3 separate regions of the Homo sapiens genome follow, and regions 1 and 3 are each linked to region 2. Evidence: promoter capture Hi-C in 16 types of primary human blood cells and fetal thymus (Javierre and others, 2016). All regions are on one chromosome and are shown on one strand. The core of a region is centred on a gene start or on the middle of the fragment in contact, and the rest is flanking DNA. Distances in the headings are between cores, read along the strand shown. Region 1 has its middle 11 kb from the start of LY6H. Region 2 holds the start of LY6D (lymphocyte antigen 6 family member D). Region 3 has its middle 30 kb from the start of LY6H.

Region 1 (2,979 bases), core at 204-2,703, 360 kb before region 2:
ATCTTGGCTCATTGCAACCTCTGCCTCCTGGGTTCAAGAGATTCTTGTACCTCAGCCTCCCAAGTAGCTGGGATTACAGGTGTGTGCCACCATGCCTGGCTAATTTTTGTATCTTTAGTAGAGATGGGGTTTCACCATGTTGGTCAGGCTGATCTCCAACTCCCGACCTCAAGTGATCTGCTGGCCTTGGCCTCCCAAAGTGCTGGGATTACATGCGTGAACCACCGCGCCTGGCCTGTTTCTGCATATTTAGATGGTCTCACTCATGCTCCAGTTACAAGGCTGTAATGCATAGCCTCAGACATGTCAGCTAGCTGCTGCGTGTGGGGACACATCTCCAGAGTCAGTCTTGCTGGGCCTGTAACTGATGAGTGAGCATGGTTGTCCTGGGGCTGCACACTTTCACACTTCCAGTAGCGATGCCTGAGACCACAGCTTCTCTGTTGCCGTTGGACTTCCGTGAGTCTGGTCAGCAATGAAAGACGGCATTGCAGCTGTGTTCTGAATTTTGGAAGTTGGACCACAGGTATGGGGACCTGGAGGCGCCGTCACCCTTGGCTCCTGGCACGTGCCCCTTATTGGTTCGTGCATGCCCGTCTTCTCGTTCTGGGCATTTTGATTTCTTTGTCTTTTGTTGGGGGGTGTGTGGGGATGGTTTCCATTTCTCTGGCCTCTCTGCTCATAACCTCGGTCCCTTTGCTGTGGGATGGTTGGTCTCCTTACTCTTTTCTGGGAACTTTCTGCATAGCTGGGAAATAAGCCCTTCATTTATAATAAGAGTGACACACATTTCCCCCTTTATTTTGCTTATGGTGTTTTGTGAGTTTTTTTTTCTTTTTTCTTTTTTTTTGCCACATGGAAGCTTCTTTTCCTTGAATTTTTATGGAGACACTATTACCATTATTTCTTACAGCTTCAGGATTTGAGTCATAGAAAAATCTTCCCTCCTCCGATGCTTAAAGGGAACCTCTCCTGCTTTCTTCTCAGGCGGAGCAGGGCTGGCGATTACCCAGCGCCCGATGGAGGAACCCAGTTGGAAGCTGCGTGGTGCCCAGGCCTGGGGCTCACCCCTGCACTTCGAGGCCCCGTGTGTGCTGGGGCTGTGCTGGCACTGTGGGCTGGGGGATTCAGGGCCGGGCAGCATAGGGGTGCTGTTTTCCCACACCCAGCCTCCAGTGAGTCCTCCCTCCACTGAGGGCAGGAACCTGTGGCCCCTGCAGCCTAGGGGCCTGTGGACCACGCCTCACCCCCAGGGGGTCCCAGGCCCACCACCCCTGCTCCCTGTGTTTCCTGCAGGGATGCAGAACATGCTGACTCAGACCTAAGCTCACAGGTGCAGGGGACGTCTCCCATCCCCAGAAGGGCACACGAGGGTGGTTCCTGGAATCGCCTCTCCCTGGCGTCTGTCCCTCTGCCCTGGAGCATTTCTGAGGCCCTCCCTGTGCTGTCCCATCCTGGGTGCCCGGGAGTCCCAGGCCTGGTCTTCTGTCCCCTCACTGGGCAGGGAAGGCCTGCACACGTGGGTGGCCGGTGGCCCCTGCTCCTCCTGGGCTCTGCGGTCCCCCCTTATGCTCCGGCCCCCGTGAGCCCCTTCCCACTGTAAGGCTCTAGCCCCACCTGGTGGGTGTGGGTGAACTGGAGGGGAGGGGGCTAAATGTGTTCATTGATTGACTCCACCCGGTGGCTCATTCTCTCTTGTGTTGGTTTCTGCACCTGTCCATGCTTGCTGACGTGAGTTTGAAATGCATCTGTCCGTGCCCCCTCGGCACAGCTAAGACACGCAGAGAGGAGCAGATCAGAACCAAGAGGCCCAGAGCGGGAGACAGGGGCTGCAGAGCTGGGATGGGGGCACCTGCTGCTCCCTGCAGTCTTGATGCCTGAGCTGCGGGGCTCACTCCCCTCCCATGTGGGCTTTTACCAGCGAGGCCTGTGCCCCAGGTCCTGAGCGTGGGAGGGTGTGTCAGGTGGTCATTTCTAGCAGTGAACGTTATTAGGGGACAGAGAGGACAGTGACGAACAAAACCTGGTGGCCCAAGAAGCTTGAATCCAGGAGGACCAGGCCGGCCTTAATGCCTTTGAGCCCCAGCTATGGGCTCAGGTCTGGGATCCTAGAAAGGCTGGCCAGCTGTAGTCTGCAGCCCATGATGGGGGTGGGTGCCCATCTGGGAGGTCCTGGTGGGATGCAGGAGGTGAGGCCTGACGGGCATGGGGTGGATGGAGGCGCCCAGGAGGCCCAGGACCTGGCCTGGGGAGGGCGGGCCTGGGCCACCCAGCGAGGGCATAGGTGAGTTATGGGTGGGGCAGGGCCCCCCGATGCTGACTGGGCTGAGGTGGGCACCGCAGGATACTGGGGTGGGGGCGTCCTGGAGAACTGGAAGGTGGGAGTGGCTGAGAGTCAGGCCCTCAAGGAACAGGAGAGTCTGGGGCTGGGGGCCTCCCCCGGCCCCTCGCCTGACAGTGGCCCTCCTGGCTGAAGCTCCAGAATCCCCCGGCTAGAGCAGAGCCTCTCTGCCCTCCCCACCACTGTCCTCAAGTTCCCCTAATGTCACGGGGGCTCCTTCTCTCGGCACTGGGGGCTGGCTGGAAGCAGCCATGCATCACTGGCTCAGCAATGGAGAACCAGAGGCTCTGGGAAAACCGCTGAGTGTCCAGCTGGGAAATCTCTGGGTGGGTGAGAGAGGGTTTTGAGGCAGCGGTGAGGCCAGGTCCCAGACTTCCCTGGCCCATGGCGGTGCTCGGAGCAGCGTGGCTTGGCTGTGGGTGCTGGGGCTGGGTTCGCACTCTTCCTCCCCAGGCCACTGACCCTGGCCTTCCCTCCCCTGTCCCCACACTCCCAGGTGAGATGGGTGTGGCTCTTTGGAGCAGGGATCCCGGAATTCAGGTCTGTCCAGCCAGCCCCTCAGCAGATGATCGGTAATTTTGTTAAATGAATGAATAAAGTAAAAAGAAATGGTGAGGGATAAAGAATGATCATTGAAT
Region 2 (3,164 bases), core at 224-2,723:
GGGCCAGAGGGTCTGTCTCAAGCCCAGGCCTGACTGGCCCCAGTACCCACGGTGCTCCCAAAAGCCTCAGCCCAGCCCAGGACCACCCTCCTCGGAACCGGCCCTGCCCTGCCCTGGGCCTGTTGTTGTCTGTTCATCAGCCACGTGGCAGCGGCGGCAGGAGGCTGGGCCCAGGGCTGACCTCCATCTGTGCCCCGGCTCCCACTCACCTTCAGCCTAGCCAGGGCAGGGGCAAAGCAAGTCTGTGGGCCCCTCCACACCACTCAGGTGGGTGCTGCCCAGCACAGGCGAGCGGCAGAGCGTGCTGGGCTGAGCAGGTGGATGGGGGCCCCAAGAGGTGGGCTCCTGCGCGAGGCGGTGGGTGCTCAGAGACCCCGTCTCCAGGGAAAGAAAGTCCCTCCTGTGAGTATAAAGAGGGTGAAGGCGGGGACTGGCCTCCACTCAACGGGCAGCAGACCAAGAACCTGCTTTGAGGCCCTGGGTGCTGGGGCCCAGCCCCAAAGAGTTCACGATTTTGGGGAGACTGGAGCCGGGACACCTAGAGCAATAGTTACAAAGTGGCCGGGATGGCGCTGCCCCCAACGTAGCAGGAGGGGCCTGGAGAGTGGGGGAAGGAATCCCACGGGGAGGGCTTCTGGGGCCCTGGAGGGCGGGAGGCAGGGCTGGTGGAGACCAGGAGGGCTCAGTCTCTCCCTGCACAACGCAGGGTGGAGTTGCTGCCTCCACAGCCCGGGCCTTCTGCCCACAGGGCTCCCCAGGCAACTTCGAGGGCCGGGTCCTCACAGTCCTCACTCTGTCCAGTGCTCACCTCACTGCTGCCCCAGCTGCCCTCCCTGCCTCGGAGTGGCCTCTGCCTCTGCCTCTGCCTCACACACCCCATCAGCCCACAGCCACCCCGAGCCCTTGCAGCTCAAGGACCTTCTGCATCCCCGGCAGCAACCCTGAGCCCAGAGCCAGGAGAGTAGGACCAGCACCTGCCCTTCCTACCTCCCCTGCCCTGGACACCCACGGGCACCCACAGGGCACCGGGCACAGGCTGCAACTCTATTGAGGGAACTATGGGGGGAATGCAGGGACAAAGACACAGGATGGTGATGGATGGTGGGGGGTGGGGGGCGGGGGGTAGCGGGTGGCAGGTCAGAGACAAAGTGACCCAGGAACGGACGGCAGCGAGAGAACAAGACCCACAGAGACAGAGAAGTGAAAGTGGGAGAGATGGAGGCACAGCAGCAGGAACAGCAGGGCCAGGAGGCCACTGGGCCCCGTTGCGGAGGGCAGACCTCTGCCTGGCGGGGGGCAGCAGGGGCAGCGCCCAGCGACAGCCAGGCTGGTGGGCGTGGGCCAGGCAGGGTGGGGCAGGTGCCCGTCCTGGGCTGACGCTTGCACAGAGCCCTGCAGAATGCCGCTGGCTGGCGGACTGCCCACCCCCGCCCAGCCCGTGCCTATAAGGCCTTGGCAATGCAGGGGCCCGCACTGCTCCCAGACGACATCAGAGATGAGGACAGCATTGCTGCTCCTTGCAGCCCTGGCTGTGGCTACAGGGCCAGGTGAGGGGCTGGGCCAAGGGGACGGGCGGGTGGGCGGCTGTGGCCTGTGTGGTCACCAAATACTAGGAGCCTGGAGCTGACGACATCTAGGCACAGAGAACCCCGACACTGTGGGTGCTAGACTCTTCAAATTTAAAACAACATGGAGCCCGAATCTTAACGAGTGTCAGATTTACAATGTTTCAGAATCTGAGGATCTTAGAACTGACTCCTGGAGTCACGGACCCTGAGAGAGTGGAGCAGGGGGTTGTCTTGAGATGCTTCTCACTGGGAGAGCGGCCATCTAGTCCCTGCCACCAGCCCCTCCCGGTCCCCAGGTCTCCCCCAGCACAGCCCAGGACAGCCCAAAGGCCACCAAGCCCTTCCTGTCATAGGCTCAGAGCAGCCAAGCTGGCTGCCCCCGGGGCCTTAGCTCCGTCAGGCCCTCAGAAACATAGCCATCTCCTCCAGGGACATCCCCTGGGGTGGGGACAAGAGCCAGTGTCCTCTTGGCAGTCGCAGAGCTCCCTGAGACCTTGGAGGAAAGGCTTGCAACACACCCTAGACAGGGGCAGGGCAGGACACCTCTTCCAAGCCGGCCCAGGCTGGAATACATGTCCCCTGAGGCTGCACTCAGGGCACATGCCCTGCCAGGACCCAGAGCCCGGGTTTGGGGGCCTAGGGCAAGGGCAGCAGGGCCTCTGTCCAGGAGGGGTCTCTGCAGGTGGGGGAGCAGGCCCTGCTGAGTCACCAGGAGGCCTCTGTTGGGCCCGCTGAGCCGGACTCCCTCCCCGCCAGCCCTTACCCTGCGCTGCCACGTGTGCACCAGCTCCAGCAACTGCAAGCATTCTGTGGTCTGCCCGGCCAGCTCTCGCTTCTGCAAGACCACGAACACAGGTGGGTAGCATCTGTCCAGGTGTCCCTGGGGCTGGGGGACATCCCTGGCTGTTGTGGGTGTTGGCTGGAAGGTTGTGGGGAGGTGGGGGGCAGAGGTGGCTGCCTGGCCTGACCACACTCACCTGTGCCCAGTGGAGCCTCTGAGGGGGAATCTGGTGAAGAAGGACTGTGCGGAGTCGTGCACACCCAGCTACACCCTGCAAGGCCAGGTCAGCAGCGGCACCAGCTCCACCCAGTGCTGCCAGGAGGACCTGTGCAATGAGAAGCTGCACAACGCTGCACCCACCCGCACCGCCCTCGCCCACAGTGCCCTCAGCCTGGGGCTGGCCCTGAGCCTCCTGGCCGTCATCTTAGCCCCCAGCCTGTGACCTTCCCCCCAGGGAAGGCCCCTCATGCCTTTCCTTCCCTTTCTCTGGGGATTCCACACCTCTCTTCCCCAGCCGCAACGGGGGTGCCAGGAGCCCCAGGCTGAGGGCTTCCCCGAAAGTCTGGGACCAGGTCCAGGTGGGCATGGAATGCTGATGACTTGGAGCAGGCCCCACAGACCCCACAGAGGATGAAGCCACCCCACAGAGGATGCAGCCCCCAGCTGCATGGAAGGTGGAGGACAGAAGCCCTGTGGATCCCCGGATTTCACACTCCTTCTGTTTTGTTGCCGTTTATTTTTGTACTCAAATCTCTACATGGAGATAAATGATTTAAACCAGTGTGGCTGTGGCTGTGCTATTCTGGGACGGAGGA
Region 3 (2,896 bases), core at 55-2,554, 340 kb before region 2:
CGGGACCCTAACCCTGTGTGTCTGCTAGCAGCAGGGGCTCAGCGTTCTCTAACTCAGCCTTCGCAGGGGCTCTGCAGACTGGAGCTAAGGTGGGTTGTGAGAAGTGGTGGCAGGTGCAGCCCAGGAGAGCCTTGCAAACAGCTGCCTTAGATGACCGGGTCTCGAGAGCTGTGTCAGACAGCGTGGGGTTGGTTTTCTGGGCCTCCATCGCCTGCTCTTTGGCTGGGGCATGAAGAAGCTAAACGGTGGTTTCTTCCTTGGCCAGGAAAGGAGGACACACTGTTAGGTTTTTCAGTTTCCTAACAGTTGTCCAAAGAGAATCAGAACTGCCAGTGGGAAGAGGAATATTTAAGGGGAATAATCCCGGCTCTGATTATCCACGCATAGGGAGGATAATCCAGTCCAGCCGGCTCAGGGGCTCAGGTGGGTTCCATCACGGTCTTTGTTCACCCATGAGAACGCGGCTGAGGGAGCAGGGGGCCTCATTCCGGGCACATGCGGCCCACACAGCTGTCCTTTTACATTGGTGGCACTCAGGCTGCGGGAGAACAGCGATGGGTTGAGGGGCCGTTGTCAGCACTGCTCCCTCAGGACTCAGGCTACTGCCCGGCCCCGACCTGGCCTCTGACCTCTACAGCATCAGATGCCAGGGATGAGAGTGTTCAGTAGCCCCTCCTGGGTGAGGAAGGATGCACACTGGCCCAGGGCTGGGGACGGGTGTCCGATTTCCATCGATTCCCGTATGAGTGGCCTTTACAGCCTCCCGGGCCTGTGTCTGGATCCTGGAAGAGGTCGCCCTCTGCTGTCCCTACTCAGGATAACAAGCCTCCTGCTCTTCATGATGAGCGTGCAGGGACACTGTTTCTGCCGCACTCAGGGCCCCAAGACCAAATTCTAAAATCTCCCCAAACCTTCAGCAGGGTGGGGCCAACCCTCATGAGACCAATGCATCTGTTTCTGCCTGGAGATCGCTGGGGCTGGTTCACACTTGGCACGTTCGGACTCGCAGATCAAGCTCTGAGGCAGGGAGGAGGCAGCAATGCCCCCTCCACATGCAGGCAGCGCCTGGCAGGTCCGGGGTCACCCCAGAGTGGAGGCCAGGCTCCTGGGCATTCCCCACCCTGGGATCCCTGCACTGTTCTCATCTGTCCTCCGAGAGGGGCAGACGGCAGCGACGGCTGGAGGCCGCACTCATGGGCACTGCAGACTTAGAGAAGCCAAAGTGCGTTTTATGCTGAGCCAAGAGTGAGTGGCAACCCGGAACACAGGTTCCATCGGCTGAGGAGGCAGGAGGGGTGGTTCCACAGCCTGAGAGGGGCAGTGCGCTCAGGGGGACCTCGCAGTCCTGCCTGGCCTCGGTGCCTTGTACACAGGTGGAGTGGACACGTGGCTGGCACACAGGGTGGAAAGCTGGCACCTACTGGAGCCTCAGGGTCTGCAGGGGCGACTGTTCTGTCCTGCCTCATCTGACAGGCACGGCAGTGACCAGGACACGTCAGTGAGACAATGCAGATTCCAGCCTCATAGGCCAGGCCTGCCTCCTACTACCCGTGTGGCCAAACTGCAGCCATCTTGGTCCACTTTTGAAAATGTTTCTTTCGGATCTTTCTGGCTGGTGCCTCTGCTGCGGAATAGCAGCTCCAGTGGGTTACCTGTCAGGAGCGCCCCTGGAGGTGCAGCTTCCCTCGTGCTCTGAATTACTCAGGTGAAGTCAGCAGGAATCCGATTCCCATCTCTGGGAAAAGCACCTCTGGCTTCTTTATCATCAGCCTTTACTTGGCCCCAGGTCTGGGAGAGGTGGCAAGAGTATTACCCTCTTGCTCTAGGGCCATCACGGAAGGAGCCACTTGCACCCCTGCAGGATCACGGGACCCTGTGGGTATCCCCCTGCCTGCAGGAGCCCCCCATTTCCACGGTTCCTGTTGGATCCCCCACTGCAGCTCTGCCTTCGAGCAGGCACCCGGCACAGCCCTGTGGTGCTGTGTCTCGGCCTGCTGCTGCCACAGGACTCGCCGGTGAGGAGCCACGGGGCAGCCCTCCTGCTGGCCACATTTGCAGGAAGTCCCGCCATGGGGTCCAGTCATGACCAGTCTAATGTCCCTTCTGGAGCCTGTGCCGCCCACTTTAGTGCTTGGGCATGGGGTCCTGGGACCACTGGCTCAGGCAGAAGAAGAGAAACCTTTGGGAGGTGGGGAAGGTACAGAGGGTCCAATTGCACCCCCCACACGCCCTCCTCCTTCCCCCAGCCCTGAAGCCTGTGAGCGGCCTGCCTGCCTTCCCCTCAGGCTCAGTCTGAAGACACCCCAGTTAAGCGACTCCACCAACTGGTCACGTTTCTCACACCTGCCTGAATAACCTGTCTTCCAGTGGCCCATTGCAATTTTCAGCATGGCCACAGCTGGACGGGACGAGCAGTGTGGTGCACACGTATGCTTGCCGTGTTTCCTGGACCGTCTCAGTGTCCTGGTGCCAGCAAGAGTGGGTACCTGGATCAGAAGAAGTAGGTCCAAGTCGGCTGAAATTGACAGAGGACTCACCATTCTAAACACCTCATGCTGTTCCCAAGGTTGCTTCTGTTACAAATAAGCCAAGTCCAGAATAGAGTGTCGTGAGAGCGTGAGATACAGCTTAGCTCCTTCCTGGAATCTCTGGAGTGACAAGAGTCTCTTTTGTAGTGAGTGTGATGAAGTTTGGGTTGATCATCAATAGCCAACGATGCAATCAATCATGTATATGTAATGAAGCTTCCATAAAAACCCAAAAGGAGCTTTCAACAGTTGGACGCACGCAGGTGCCTGGAGGACGGCGCCCAGGAGGGCACAGGAGCTCTGCCATTCTCCCCTGTGCCTTGCAAAACCCAAGGAACTTCCCATCTCCAATGCGCGGATGTTGGGTG

What was found. Contacts are between HindIII fragments. The CHiCAGO score rates a contact against its expected background, and 5 or more counts as called.
Region 1: a fragment that was not itself captured here is called in contact with the fragment with the promoter of LY6D in region 2 in 1 of 17 cell types (M2 macrophages); the score reaches 5.0 in M2 macrophages.
Region 3: a contact is called between a fragment that was not itself captured here and the fragment with the promoter of LY6D in region 2, in 1 of 17 cell types (naive CD8 T cells). The highest score is 7.3, in naive CD8 T cells.

Annotation. Positions count from the first base shown.
Region 1 is chr8:143,147,579-143,150,557 of GRCh38, reverse strand. No RefSeq gene overlaps it. Among named protein-coding and RNA genes, the nearest start is that of LY6H, 11 kb to the left of the region's middle. The HindIII fragment of the contact is 1,177 bases long and covers 865-2,041 here.
Region 2 is chr8:142,784,848-142,788,011 of GRCh38, reverse strand. LY6D (lymphocyte antigen 6 family member D) reads left to right here and starts at 1,473. Exons shown (of 3, transcript NM_003695.3): 1 at 1,473-1,547; 2 at 2,325-2,423; 3 at 2,556-3,130. The coding sequence starts at 1,496. The coding sequence ends at 2,791. The HindIII fragment of the contact is 15,715 bases long and covers 1-3,164 here.
Region 3 is chr8:143,129,107-143,132,002 of GRCh38, reverse strand. No RefSeq gene overlaps it. Among named protein-coding and RNA genes, the nearest start is that of LY6H, 30 kb to the left of the region's middle. The HindIII fragment of the contact is 2,885 bases long and covers 1-2,746 here.